Linked DNA regions of Homo sapiens: region 1 is linked to region 2. The links are contacts of gene promoters, found by promoter capture Hi-C in blood cells and fetal thymus (Javierre and others, 2016). All regions are on one chromosome and are shown on one strand. Each heading gives the region's core, a stretch centred on a gene start or on the middle of the fragment in contact. The rest is flanking DNA. Distances are from core to core; before and after follow the strand shown.

The links. Contacts are between HindIII fragments. The CHiCAGO score rates a contact against its expected background, and 5 or more counts as called.
Region 1: a fragment that was not itself captured here is called in contact with the fragment with the promoter of LCP2 in region 2 in 2 of 17 cell types (monocytes and M0 macrophages); the score reaches 7.4 in monocytes.

The regions. Positions count from the first base shown.
Region 1 is chr5:170,425,314-170,428,753 of GRCh38, reverse strand. It overlaps a transcript of KCNIP1 not described here. Among named protein-coding and RNA genes, the nearest start is that of KCNIP1-OT1, 38 kb to the right of the region's middle. The HindIII fragment of the contact is 3,703 bases long and covers 1-3,146 here.
Region 2 is chr5:170,295,657-170,299,101 of GRCh38, reverse strand. LCP2 (lymphocyte cytosolic protein 2) reads left to right here and starts at 1,325. Exons shown (of 21, transcript NM_005565.5): 1 at 1,325-1,568. The coding sequence starts at 1,491. RefSeq lists an enhancer at 2,143-2,222. The HindIII fragment of the contact is 7,744 bases long and covers 1-2,496 here.

The DNA.
Region 1 (3,440 bases), core at 46-2,545, 130 kb before region 2:
GGCAAATATTTTCCTCCCCCATAAAGGGTGGGAAGGTGAAGGTGACACACACCTTTCTTCCTATTGGCTTTAGTGTAGGTGGTTTCGTGAGGCTATGATGTCTGTAGCAGACACAGCCACCCCGTGAGTACTGATGGGACAGCAGACAGAATCCCAGAAACCGCCCAGAGCCTGGACATAACGGAGCTGCTCTAAAGTTCTCAACACCCTGATCTCTTGCTATATAAGATGATAAATATCAAGGCTTAGGCTATGTTTGTGTCAGATATTATGTTCCTTGTTGTTAAATTCCATCAGCCTGGAATATTGTTTTAATAAAAAAAAAAAAAGACAGCATTAAGCCCAAATCTAGCTCCAAAGCATGGGTGAGTAATGTGTACTTTGACTGTGGTTTTCATGGAGAGACTGAAGAGGACCTTGTATCCTATCTTTCGCACTGTGGCAAAGCCCCTTAAGCATAGCTGCTCTGGCTGTCACGTTCCTTACCCTCAGGTGGCTGCCACGACATCCCCACAAGTCCTTCCACCAACCCTGCGTTTCCCAGCCTCCTCCCGTTTCCAGTTTACCTCCTTATTCTTTTTTCTTATGTAGAGCAAATTTAGGCTTCTCTCAACTTCACTGAGGAACACAGATGTTGTCCCTGGGACACACCCACATTAGAAGGGGAGGAGTGGAAGGAAACAGGTGGGCAGGGAATAGTTGAGCATGGTTTTGAAGTATGAATAGGAGCTCACCACGTGGAGGAGAGAGGAAGGCATTCTGGAAAGGGGAAATCACACTTGTACATCTAACAACACTATTTTCTTTCTACCATATGCTGAAAATACTAAATGTGAAGTTAACCCATAGGCCTCCTCTGGGAGGCTCTGGGCAGCTTGCCAGCTCTGGAGTTGGGGGTTGGACTCAGATGCTGCAGGAAGTGTGATGGGAAGAGTTGTCTCTGGGCCATCTGGCTCCAGCTGCCTGGCAGCACACTTTCCTTTGAGATGAAGGCGAAGGGGTGGGAGCAGCTTCTCAAAAGGAAGTGGAGGAGGTGGCAGACCCCACAGGTGCAGCCTGGGAGCAGTCCTGGGGCCCAGCAGCAGGCCGGCAAGGTGGAGACCTGGTACAGGGGACCAGTGGAGACTGGTCACGTCCCTGTTTGCATTGGCTGGGAACCCCTGGGTGAGGATACAGTGGTTCTCAGCTGGGGATGAATTCTCTTCCCCATGGCAGGCTGTGCTTTTCAGGGCCTAGTCCTACCACTTACTGGCAATGTGAACCTGGGAAGTCGCTTCCCCTTTCTGTGCCTATCTCAAAACTGGGGAAATAAGAATGCCCGCCTCATAGGGCAGCAGTGAGGATTAGATGAGATGGTTGTAGCTATAATGCTCCTGTCCAGACACAAGAAAAGAGTGGCCATAAGCTGCCAGAACCTGGCCCAGAGTCTTACACCTTACGCCTTTCTCTCCTGGTCGTTGGAGGCCGCAGGAGGGGCTGGGAATGCAGGGGTTCTGGTCGATAGTCCTAATGCACCAGAAACAGCTGGCTTGGGTCTAACTAGTGACTCTCAGCACCTCTTTAAGGCTGTGACTTGCAGAGGAGGATGCTATTATTTCCATTTGGCAGGTGAACCTGCAGAGGCTCTGGGAGGCCATGACTCTCCCCTACCCTGTGTTGTAGCAGAAAGCAGGGAACCTGCAGCCCCTGCTCCAGCCCTCCTTGGGCTGAGTCAGAAAAGGTCTGTCTTGCCCTCAGCTCCCCACCCCTGAAAGGAGGCCTCTTCCCTCTCCCTGTGGAGCTGGTCCTGCGGCCGCGCCTCTTCCCTCTCCCTGTGGAGCTGGTCCTGTGGCCACGCAAAGGCTGCACATGGGGTGGTTTTTATCTGGGTTTCTCCTCCCTGAGGCCAAAACATGGCTTTCTTTCTGCAGGCTGGTAGGGGAGGCGGGCTCTCAGCTCCACCCTCTACGAACCCCTCTTGGGAGTTGGGTGGAAGCAGATGCTTTCCCAGAAGTTCTTTCTTGGCTGCTGCAGTGAAAATCTGGGTGGAGTGTGAACTGTTCCTTCAGGTAAATCAGACAATGCTGACAGCAATTGCCATTTACCAAGCACCTGCAAGCTCAGGCACTGTGTTAAGCCTCTGTGTGCAGACTGCCCTCCATGCTCACAGCGCCCCTAGTGCTAGATGCGGCTGATAGCTCCATTTTGCAGACTGGTAAAACTGAGTCCCAGTGGCAACTAATCTGCTTAGTGTCATGTAGACAGTAACTGCTGGATCTAGGATTTATCCCTGTGACTTTGTGACTCAAGCCTTCGCCCTTCAGTATGTCCCAGTATTAACTCTCAGTAGGAGGCAAAGCAAGACAAGGTCAGGCTTCCAAATTGAGCTGGAAAATGAAACAAAGAGGATAAGAATGTTATTAACAGGGTTTGTCTGGAACAGAGCAGCTGCCTCAGGGGGCTGATATGACTGATAATATTAAAAACTGTGTGTGTGTGTTTGTGTGTGTGTGTGTGTGTGTGTGTGATTCCTTTTGAGTCACAAAGCATTAGCAAACATTTTCCCAAGCATGCTGGGCCTGAGGATACAGGGGCCTAAGAGAACCAGTCCCTACCATGGAGGAGCTCTGCATCAGTCAGTGGTTCGAGGAAGAAGGGACTTACTGCAAGGAACCAGCCGCTTCCAAATCACTGGAAGGGCTGGAGAAGCGGCCACCAGGCTGGGCCTCCAGGAATAATCCCCAGCACACTGCCAAACTGACCTGCCCGGGGCCACTACCTCAAAAGCTGCTGAGAAAATGCCTGAGTCCTAGAGCATGCCACGGACCAGTGCTGCAATTCAGGAACCAGGAAGCTGTCCCCATGGCTGCCACCAATGCAACATTTTCTGTCACCAGGAAGCAGTAGGATGGTCAATGGCCACAGACAACCTTATATTTCCAGGACCTTGCCTGCCTGCAGGAAGGTGGCTCCTGCCTTCCAGATCTTGCTAGGGCGTAGGGGACTGACACCCAGAGCCCTCACCTGGAGAGGTCTGGTGGTCTTCTTCATGGCACAGAGGCTTCCGTGGCAGAGGAAGAGGCACTTGCAGGAGGGAGGGTGGAGTTGCAGCCAATTCAAGAACTGTGCCCAAGTCTCTCTCCAGCCAAAATGGGGTGTCAGAAGCTTTGGTGGCAACAGAAGGATGTCTTGTGTTCTGTGTATCCTTTAGACTCAGCTTTGCAGAGTTGGGGGCATGGATCCAAGGGATCCTCCTTCCTATGAATACAGGGAACCCCAAAGGGCCTCCTAGCTTTTCTCCAGCAGCTCTCTGCCTCCCCCCATGACTGCCATCACCTGCATGGCCAGGCCACCTGGAGAAAGACTCCTGCATGGGGCCTGAGCCTGGAGGTAAGAATTGGTTTTCAGAATCAAATTGTCTCTTTCAAGGGGCCAGGTCAGGGTTCACCCAACTTGGATGC
Region 2 (3,445 bases), core at 76-2,575:
AGTTCTTAGGTGTGAGGCCCTGCAAGGAGCAAATGGCCTGGGCTACCTTCACTGATGCCCTCAGCACCTTCTAAGGTGAGGCTAACACCAGCTCACATTGATGAGCTAGTGCTGGGCCTGGAGCAAAATGTGTATTTCATTTAAGCTGCCCACCAGCTTGTGAGGCAGGTGCATTACCGTGACGGCGGGGCTCCTCAGAGTGTGTATAAGAAGAAAACTGTGCATGGCCAAAGCTATGCTTGAAAACCCTCAGGAAGGCACCACCTCAAGGACCAACATAGCATCACTTAGTAAAGGCAACAGCCTTGGAACAGATGACTCGTGTGTGTGTGTGTGTGTGTGTGTGTGTGTGTGTGGCATTAGATGAAGTAGTAACTTGTGTTTAGAGGTTGCCTTATTGCACAAATATAGTTGCTTTTATACACTGGACTCACCCTCTGCCAATAAGTTGTTCAGTTATGAGAAATGAACAATGTCTGAAACTAAGAAAACAGCAAATTCTCACCTCCTATCTCCAGGGAATGTGCTCTTTGGCTAGAATATATGGCAGAATCAATAGTGAATAAAATATATTGTGGAAACAATAGTGAATGGAATATATGACACTACCAATAGCAATTGTTAAGTTTTTTTTCTTTTTAATTTTTCTTTTTAGGTTTGTCTAGTTGAATGCATCTAAGTTTTATGTGCATATGAAGAATCACTGTTTTCCTATTATACAGATTTGGAAACTGAGATTCCCAGCTTTTAACTCCTTGCCTAAGGTTGCATAGCACAGAAATAGTCATATCAGAAACTGAGCCCTGTCTGCACAGTGTAGCACCTTGTTCAGCCCTGGGTGCCTGACTCACTCACTCCTTGAGGACCCTCTCATGACAACTGTAAAGAGGCAGCTGAAAGAATCCCAGTCTTTGATGGTGGGAGGGGAAAGTGGTTGGAAAGCATTAAAAAAACATGCTCCAGCAGTTCACTGATGTGGGAAATTGTCTGTATTTCAGGTCAACCGTCAGGATAGATTTTGGTCTGCAAAGCCCCAGCTGAGCAAGAATGCAGTGTAGACATATGGGTGCCCAGAGTTTAAAGGAAAATTACTCAGACTCACATTGGAGTTTAAGACCCCTTCATTGCCTCTCCTACTGGGTTGGGGTGACTGGAGCCAGTGGGGAATTACCAACCCTGTGGCTCTCTCTGCATCTCAAGCCTCCAGAGCTGGGCTTCCTTGTTTACTTATTTAGAGCCCAGCAGAGGAAGTGGTAAAGGAAACTAGCTGAGTCGTTTTCTGAGAAGAGACCATATTTGTTCGCAGAGGAAGCCGTTGCTTTCTGGGATCTGGCTACGCCAGAAAAGACATCGGCTCCAACAGGGGTGTTCCACAGGGTAGCTGGGAGTTGGAAGAGCCAAGAACGCCTCCGAGCTCTGGATTTGAGCTTCTCTGCCCATGGGTGAAGCGCCCATGCTCAGCTTGTGAGCTTCTTCCCGGGAGAGCAGCCATGGCACTGAGGAATGTGCCCTTTCGCTCAGAGGTCCTGGGCTGGGACCCCGACAGCCTTGCTGACTATTTCAAGAAGGTAAGCCTTGCTCTTGTGTGAATGGTCATGATGCTAGTGCCCTTGGTGGGCTGAGCTGAGGCTTGACGATGGAATTGGGGCAGAATGTGGGAGGTGTATAAGATAGCAATGGAACCCTATGGCAACTTTACTGGTTGAGTGAGCGCCATATAGACCGCTGAGTTTTCCTGACCATGAGTTCCGGAGAGAAGGATGGGAGCAGAAGCCCTCAAATGAGTATGTGCCTATTATGTGCTAGGGTTTGAATTCGGTGTCTCACAGGCACTGTCCCATTTAGCGCTCCCTACTATGTTGTGAGGTCAGCATTGTTATCCCCTTGACTCAGCTGCAAAATCAGCTCAGGGAAGTGAAATGGTCCGAAGCCCTAGGGACTACATGTGATAGAGGCAAGACTCAAGCCACACCTATCTGGTTTTAAAGTCCATGCTCTGAGATGCAGAGAACTGTTGTAACTGCTAATGAGATCAACGCTACTTACTAGAAAGGGGAGACGTGGTGTCCTGGAGGCAGGAGAAAGAATAGGCAGGGTGGGAGGGCTGGATAGAGGACTATGATGAGCAGTGCCAGACACAGCATTTGGGCTTTCACTGCTCACGACCCTAAGGGGGGTCCTCAAGCTCCCGCCTGGGGCAGTCTCCTTGGAGCCTTATGAGAGTCTTGTGAAGCAGGACAGAAAACTGATGTGAGCCCCAATTTATAGCTATGAAAACTGAGGCCCCTAGAGGAAAAGAGGCTTGTGGCGGTGCTGGGACCAGAGCGTTGCTGTCTTATCTTCTGGACTTAGAGGAAAGGTTGAAGGATCCCTGTGCTTGGTCATTGGCAGAAGGGGACAACGCATCTGCTTGGGCAGATCTCAAGCCACATGACTTAGTTATAGTCCCTCTACCCTGACCATGTGGTAAGATGACTTGTGCGAGACGGTTAAGCTTCTAACACCCTCATCCCTGCAGGCTGGCATCGGATTCTGTTGATATTCCAGACTGTCATAAAGATGAGATTGTAAAGCTAAGATGGTAGAAGTCATCTAATTCAGCTTCGTGTTTTTCCTGGGGAAATTGAGATTCAAGAGGGTAGACGAGGTTCCCTAGGACGTATAGCCAAACCTGGGGTCTATGCATTTCCGAGGCATTTATAGTCACAGCTGTTCTCCCCCAACCTGAAGAAGAAAATGAGAACATGTTGAACTAGGTGTGGTATGGTAGGGGTACAGTTCACAGATCCTGTTTTTTGCCATATTTTGTGCTTTCATTTCTGTTATTTTCCTTCTGCAAGGTCATAATAAACTTAGATTTCAGCAAATATTGTTGCGCAACTGGTTTTTTGAAGGATGTTTCTAAATATCTTGCTCAAATATAGACCAAATAAGATAGGGCAACAAGGTAAAATTTGCCAAGAGGGAATAAAGTGGCATGTTACCTTGATAAGGGAAAAAGAAAGGAATTGAGAATTATGAAGAGAAAGACTTGGGACGGGCTGAGAGGCACAGATAGGCCTAACATTCAGGTGTGACCAGGAGAATTATACAATCCAATTGAGCAACAGAGAATTGATCCCTAAAACTCCCATCAGTACAGGGAGATGGACCACGGGTCAGGGATGGTACAGGAAGACCTCACTGCCTGAGCTGGGGGAAGGGAGAGTTTTCTTCCTGGAGATCTCAGACCCCAGGACAAATCTACAGCACCCAGGCAGGTTCCTTCTTCTGCCATAAATGGACTGAGGGAAGAAACTAGGAGACTGAGGCAAATCTGTGATCCTGGAAGTTCTAGTCCCTCCACAGACTTGGATAGAAACCCTTCAGATTCTGAGTACCTCAGCCCCCTGAAAGAAACTACCAAACGAATGGACCGCAGAGTCATTTGGGAATGGATCTTAGC